2 separate regions of the Homo sapiens genome follow, and region 2 is linked to region 1. The links are contacts of gene promoters, found by promoter capture Hi-C in blood cells and fetal thymus (Javierre and others, 2016). All regions are on one chromosome and are shown on one strand. Each heading gives the region's core, a stretch centred on a gene start or on the middle of the fragment in contact. The rest is flanking DNA. Distances are from core to core; before and after follow the strand shown. Region 1 holds the start of TSPYL5 (TSPY like 5). Region 2 has its middle 93 kb from the start of MTDH.

Evidence for each region. The method cuts DNA at HindIII sites, captures the fragments that hold promoters and counts their contacts. A CHiCAGO score of 5 or more calls a contact.
Region 2: a contact is called between a fragment that was not itself captured here and the fragment with the promoter of TSPYL5 in region 1, in 2 of 17 cell types (M1 macrophages and M2 macrophages). The highest score is 7.8, in M1 macrophages.

The regions. Positions count from the first base shown.
Region 1 is chr8:97,276,349-97,279,472 of GRCh38, forward strand. It overlaps TSPYL5 (TSPY like 5), which reads right to left and starts at 1,580. Exons shown (of 1, transcript NM_033512.3): 1 at 1-1,580. The coding sequence starts at 1,496. The coding sequence ends at 243. The region is part of intron 2 of LOC101927066 (a long non-coding RNA gene); the gene reads right to left. RefSeq lists an enhancer at 617-1,118. The HindIII fragment of the contact is 4,352 bases long and covers 1-2,897 here.
Region 2 is chr8:97,549,133-97,552,423 of GRCh38, forward strand. No RefSeq gene overlaps it. Among named protein-coding and RNA genes, the nearest start is that of MTDH, 93 kb to the right of the region's middle. The HindIII fragment of the contact is 3,260 bases long and covers 117-3,291 here.

The sequences.
Region 1 (3,124 bases), core at 330-2,829:
TCTAAAGTATGTGTGCTTAACATATGAACAGTCCGGGTGCGATCACATAACATGTGACACTAACGTAGAAAAGCAAGAGGCTATGGGAGGCAAAAGAACATGATCATAAATGCCATATTCTTGTAACTAAAGTCCAAAGGGTCTATAGTACACAGAGGCCAACATGAAGAGAAGGCAGAGAGCCAAATATGTAGTCAACCAGGAGCAGCCCAGCAGGAGGTAGCAGGGAGACTTGTGCAGGATCAGTTGGATTGGCTCACCCCAGGCTGAGTAGTCTCCATTGGCTGCTTTCCTGGACCTTGCCTGCCTTCTTTTTCCTTTCCTTTCTCTACACGAGCCCCTTCACTCAAAAGGTAGAACTGCAAGGGATTGGGCCACAATTCTTCGTTGATTATCTCCACAATCTTGTCAGACTCAATGGAGCTGTGGTTTGAAAACCACCCAAAGAAACTACGGTTGTTTTCTGGGTTTCCCTGGCTTAGGGACTGGAGATCATGCCCTGGGAGCCACTGGATTGGAGTAGAACGAGACACCACCTGGCCAGAAGGACCACACCCATATTCCTTGATGAGCACCTTATTTTGGAAATACGGGTTGCGATCGAAGTAGAACTTGATTTTGTAGCCCAATCTGGCAAGGCCGAGCTCTTCCACTTCCAAGCTGTTTAAGTAGCTCAGTACCTCTTTCTCTTGGCTATTCAGAAAGGATGCTAGCTGGGGATGGTTCTGAAATGCTTGCCCCCAGAAGCCCGGGATATTTTGGATGAGGTGGTTCCTGCGCTCCAAGTGCTGCAGTCGCAACTGCCCAAACTTCCTGGAGAGCCGAAGGTAGGCCCTGTCCGCCTGGGCGTTCATGTTCTCCAGCTTCAGCTGCACGTTCTCCAGCGTATCCATGCTGCCTTCCGTCGCTGGGGGCCCCGACCCTGCATCCCTCTCTTCCTTCTTTTCCTCCCCAGCTGACACCGAGGTATTCTCCCCTGCCGCCCCTTTCTTCTGCCTCCCACCAGCTATGACCTGAGGCCCCCTCCCCGCGGTGCTACAGGTTTCTGGGGCCTTCTTCCCGGCAGGGCCACGCCGGTTTCCAACGCGGGGGGCATTTTTCGGCCTTCCCACGGTTCCCGCTGTTCCCACGAAGACAGTGTCTGCGGCCAGGCGCTCCGAGAGAGATGCGGCCTTCCCCGGGCCGGGCCTGGCCGCGGCCTGCCCGTGGTCCCCCGCAGCTCGGGCCCGCAGCGCGAGGCCACAGTCCAGGGGGAGCCGGCAGGCGGCCTCCTCCCCGAGCCGGAGGAGCTGCGCGGACGCAGCGGCTTCCAGGCCACCCCACCCCGCGCCAGCCTGCACCTGTGCCGCCTGGGTGTCTTCCCCGAGACTCTGGTACTGTGAAGGGTCCGGGTCGCGCGGGGCGTCGTCCGGAGCAGGGCGGACTCGGGCTTTGGCGCGGCCTTTGCCCCGGTTTTTGGCGCGGGAGGACTTTCGACCCCGACTTCGGCCGCTCATGGTGGCGGCGGAGGCAGCTTCAAAGACACGCTGTGACCCTGCGGCTCCTGACGCCAGCTCTCGGTCGGGACCGAGCGGGTCTCTCCACGGCAACCGCCGACGTCACGAACGTACAACTGTACCGTCGCGAGAGGACGTGATGCGCCCGGTGATTGGCGCCGCCGCTGCGGCTGCGCAGGAGACGACCCCCGCGGGCGCTCCCACCCCCATCTCGCGCGGACTCGCTTTAGGTCTCGGCGAGTTTCTCTGATATGCGCTCGCGGGGGTGCTGCCATTTCATCTCTTCCGCGCGGGCTCATCGTGCTCTCAGGGTCTCGTTGAACAAGGCAACGCTAAGAGCCATCACCACCTGTCCCCCATCACCTGTTTTCTAAACTAAACATCTTCAGCTCCTCCAGTTATCTCTTGTGGCATCTGTCATGAAGAAAGTGCTCGGGCGTGTGTGTCTCTCTTTGAACACCTTTGCTGAGGGATTTGCTCTGGTACCTTAACTCCAGAGAACGTAAAGGTGGATGCTATAATGCCGGGCGTCAAAGCGATTTGGTACGCAGTAAGATGATAGTAGAAATTATAAAAATAATGGCAACTAGTATTTTGTATCATTTGTGCCAGGCACTTTACTAGGTGCTTTAAATGCATTATCTCAATTTACAAAGGAGGTGTTGATATCATTCCCATTTTCGAGATAAGAAAACTGCATCTCAGAGACACCCGGGCACATTCCCCAGGTTACACAGTAAGGGATGGAAGCACAATTCAAACTCAAGCCCATGGGACTCCGTATCCTATGCCTTATATTTGGAAATGGCAAGTCCTTCCAGACTTGTTCCACTGTCAATTACTGGGCTGGCTCTTAAGAAATCAGCCTTGCTCCTTAACAAACAGGCTTCCGTGGACCACCTGACCACCTCTTCTGCCTGGGAACATCACCCGAGTCCCCCAGCTGCCTCAGTTTACAGATCTGGACTATCACTCTAGGTATAGGACCAGAAGTGAAGACCTGTATTAGAGCTCCTGTAATTGGAGTAAGACAAGAATGTGGTGAGAGGTGAAATTATTATTCAGGGAGCAGATTGAGGTTCAGAAGCAGAGCCTCCACGTGGCACTGCAGAAGCCCTAGAAACTTCTTACACTGTGCATGGAAACAGCCGGACAACCTCCCCCACAGTCCCGGAGGCAGCCCTGGACCACGCTCTTACTAGTGAGGTAATAGGACCATGAACAGTGAGGGGACCTGTGGCTAATGTAAAAATATAAAGAAAAACCTTTTGAGGTGGTCTTTTCAGGCTCAAAGGGAACAAAAAGGCCCTTGTAACCAGCTAGTGGAGAGATAAGCCCAAAAGCCCCGGGACCTCATTACTCAAAGTGTGGTTGTGGACCAGCAGCCTGATATCACCTGAAAGCTTGTTAAAGATGCAGAATCTCAGGCCTTTCCCCAGACCTACTAAGTCAGAATTTGAATTTTAACAAGATCCTGGGTGATTTGTATACACCCCTAAGTTTAAGGAAACAATTTAAAGAGGAATTATTTTTATACAGATGGCCCTATTTTAAGCCGGCCTAATACAAGTGATTCCTCATTTTCTCAAAAGCTCTAGAATAGCCTGCAAGGCCCTGTATGATCTGGC
Region 2 (3,291 bases), core at 497-2,996, 270 kb after region 1:
CAATGGAAAACTCCTTTCATCATGGGTCTGTCATGAGCATATCTATTGTGAATGGAGCATGAATGGGTCAGAGAAAGAACAATTTCTTCTTCCCAAACAACTTTGCCTTCATGAAAAGCTTAGGTTATTGATGAATTTCTTAGGGCAACCATATTGCTTGGTAGCTACTCTATGGATCTAGGGTTATAGGATAGGAAGTCCCAAACCCAGAATCGCAGGATTTGAAAATCGTAAGAAGAGATAATCTTGATGAATCTTCTTATTTTAAAGATAAAAGAAGACCTAGTAAGATTAAGCTATTTGGTCAAGGTAATTTTTTTTTTTTTTTTGCTATGATTGGGTCCTAGCTTTCTGGCTGACTGCTTCTCATCCAGAACCCTTTTAACTCATTCACATTTCTTCACATTATTTTACACACACATACACACACACACACACGTGCACATAGATATAAATCTGATATGAGGAGAAACTGATGTTCAGTAGTTTAATAGGCATCTCCAATTTAACATAGCTAAAACAGATCTCTTGATGTTGTTCCTGAAAATAGATCTCTACCCACCTCCCCCATAACTATAAAGGGTACTCTCACCCATACCCCAGAAACCTTTCTTGATGGCGCTCTCTCTCACCATCGTAGCATTTACCAATATCTGACGTTGTTTTAGATTTTTATCTGCTTATTATCGTTCCATTGAAATTTAAGCTCCATGGTGGCATTTTGTTCAGAGAAAACTCTTCACTGCTTTAAAAGTCCCTGGCACATAGTAGGCGCCCAAAAAATATATGTTGAATGAATCCATTGGTATTAAATCCTGTGGTCAGGAAACACTTATGGCAACATCATTTTTAGCTAAATGGGAACTTAATGTAGGGACTTACCAGAAACTGAAAGCAGAAATGTCACAGTCATTGCTATAGGCCATGTAGTTGCCTTCGATTTTAAAAACAATGAGGCCGGGTACAGTGGCTCACACCTGTAATCCCAGCACTTTGGGAGGCTGAGGCAAGTGGATCAATTGAGGTCAGGGGTTCAAAACCAGCCTGGCCAACATAGTGAAACCTGGTCTTTACTAAAAATACAAAAATCACCTGGGCATAATGGCACACACCTGCAATCCCGCTACTTGGGAGGCTGAGGCAGAGAATTGCTTGAACCCAGGAGGTGGAGGTTGCAGTGAGCCAAAATCACGCCACTGCACACCAGCCTGGGTGACAGAGTGAGAGTCCATCTAAAATAAATTTAAAAAGACAATGACAGTCACAGTACCTCTGAAATCTTTGTATAGGATCAAATACCAGCCTATTAATATGCTCAGGAGCAAGTGACCCTGATACGACAGGAGGTAATATGGCAAAATCAAAACTTACTACTACTCTAAATTAATGACTTTGGCCATATCATTGTCAATATCCACTGAGCCTCCCTCACTTCTAGATATCCTGCCAGGAAATTATAGAAACAAACTCAGTTACAAAGCAATAAAGGACACTGCCGTGAAGGATCCAATTCCACTAATTTATGTATTCATTTATTCTATTTATTCAGCAAACTTTCACTGAGTGGATACCATGTGCTTGACACAACTAGGTGCCAAGACTAAAATCCTGTCTGGAATAGTGTTTACTATTGATTTTGTTGCAGTCATATCTCTGTCGCCATCATCTTATTCATGCAAAGCTGAAGGCATATAAAGGTTACCATGGGAAACTAAAGAAAGGCATCTCGGTGTCCTTTACTTATTTTTCCTACAGTGGGCAGTGATGATGACATTTATCAAGCTGTCTCACCTAAACCACCGACAAGTTGTTGTATCCTAAGAACTGATGTCTCTATCTTGGGACCATATTATCTAAGTTACCTGAGTCATAAGGATGAGGGGAAGCATTCGTTCTTATTTGAGAGGGGAAATTCCATTCCCCTACTTTGACAATATTTTCCCAGTAGTAATTTAATCCTCAGAATCCTGTAATACCCTTAGGATAGTAATGAATAAATGAATGGCTGCAGTACATTAAATCCTTATTTTCATCCTAAGAGCTTGATCTTGGTGGTTACCATTTTTCAGCTCTTCAATCATTTATTGCAACATATCATGCTACAACAGAAACTATTTAGAAGCAAGCAAGATGCTAACTGCTGTTATGTGCATTTAGAAATGGTCAGTTGACGAGAGGAGAAATCAGATGGTTAAACTTCTGCAACATTTTTCAAAGACCTCCAGTAAGGCTTAATACATTGAAATACAAATTACAGGAAAAGAAAGATTTGCCTGTACTAAAATTTTGGCAAAGAAACAACAGAAACATATCTTCGAACCCATCAAACAATTCTCTTCTGTCTGACCCTTACCAAGAACTCTCTTTATCTCCTTGGAATATTGACTTCCTTCCAATATACATAGGACTTTTCTGCATTCCCCAGGTGGGCCTATTGTCACTAAGAGTTTTTAACATGATGCATTAACCTCCTTGGGCTGCTGTAACAAATTAGCCCAAACTGGGTGGCTTAAACCAGCAGAAATTTATTCTCTTACAGTTCCAAAGCCTAGAAGTATGAAATCAAGGTGTCAGCAAGGCCATCCTCTCTCTGAAGGCTCCAGGAAAAAAATCTTCCTTGCCTTTTCCAGTTTCTTCCATTCCAGGTTGCCAGGGGGATCTTTGGCATTTCCTGGTTTGTAACTGCATCACTTAAATTTCTGCATCTGTCTTCACATGGCCATCTTCCCCCTAAGTGTGTCTTTTTTTTTTTTCTTTTGAAACAGGGTCTCACTCTGTCACCCAGACTGGAGTGCAAGTGGCACAATCACAGCTCACTGCAGCCTTGCCTTCCTGGGCTCAAGCAATCCTCCTGCCTCAGCCCCACGGAGTAGCTGAAACTACAGGTGCACCACCACACCCCACTAATTTTTGTCTTTTGTTTTTTGTTTTTTTTTGAAGAGATGGGGTTTCAACATGTTGCCCCAGGCTGGTCTCAAACTCAGGCTCAAGTGGTCTGCCCGCCTTGCCTCCCAAAGTGCCGGGATTACAGGCATGAGCCACCACACCCAGCCCTGTGTGTGTCTTTCTGTCCTAATCTCCCTCTTTTTATAAAGACATCAGTCACTGGCTTTAGGGCCCATTCTAATCCAGTACAACCTCATCTTAACTGGATTACATCTGCAAAGAACCTGTTTCCAGAGGAGGTCACATTCATAGGTACCAGGGCTTAGGACTTCAACTTATTTTGGAGGACACAGTTCAACTCACGACAATGCCCAAACTCTGAGCCTTCTAATCCGAGAAAATTCC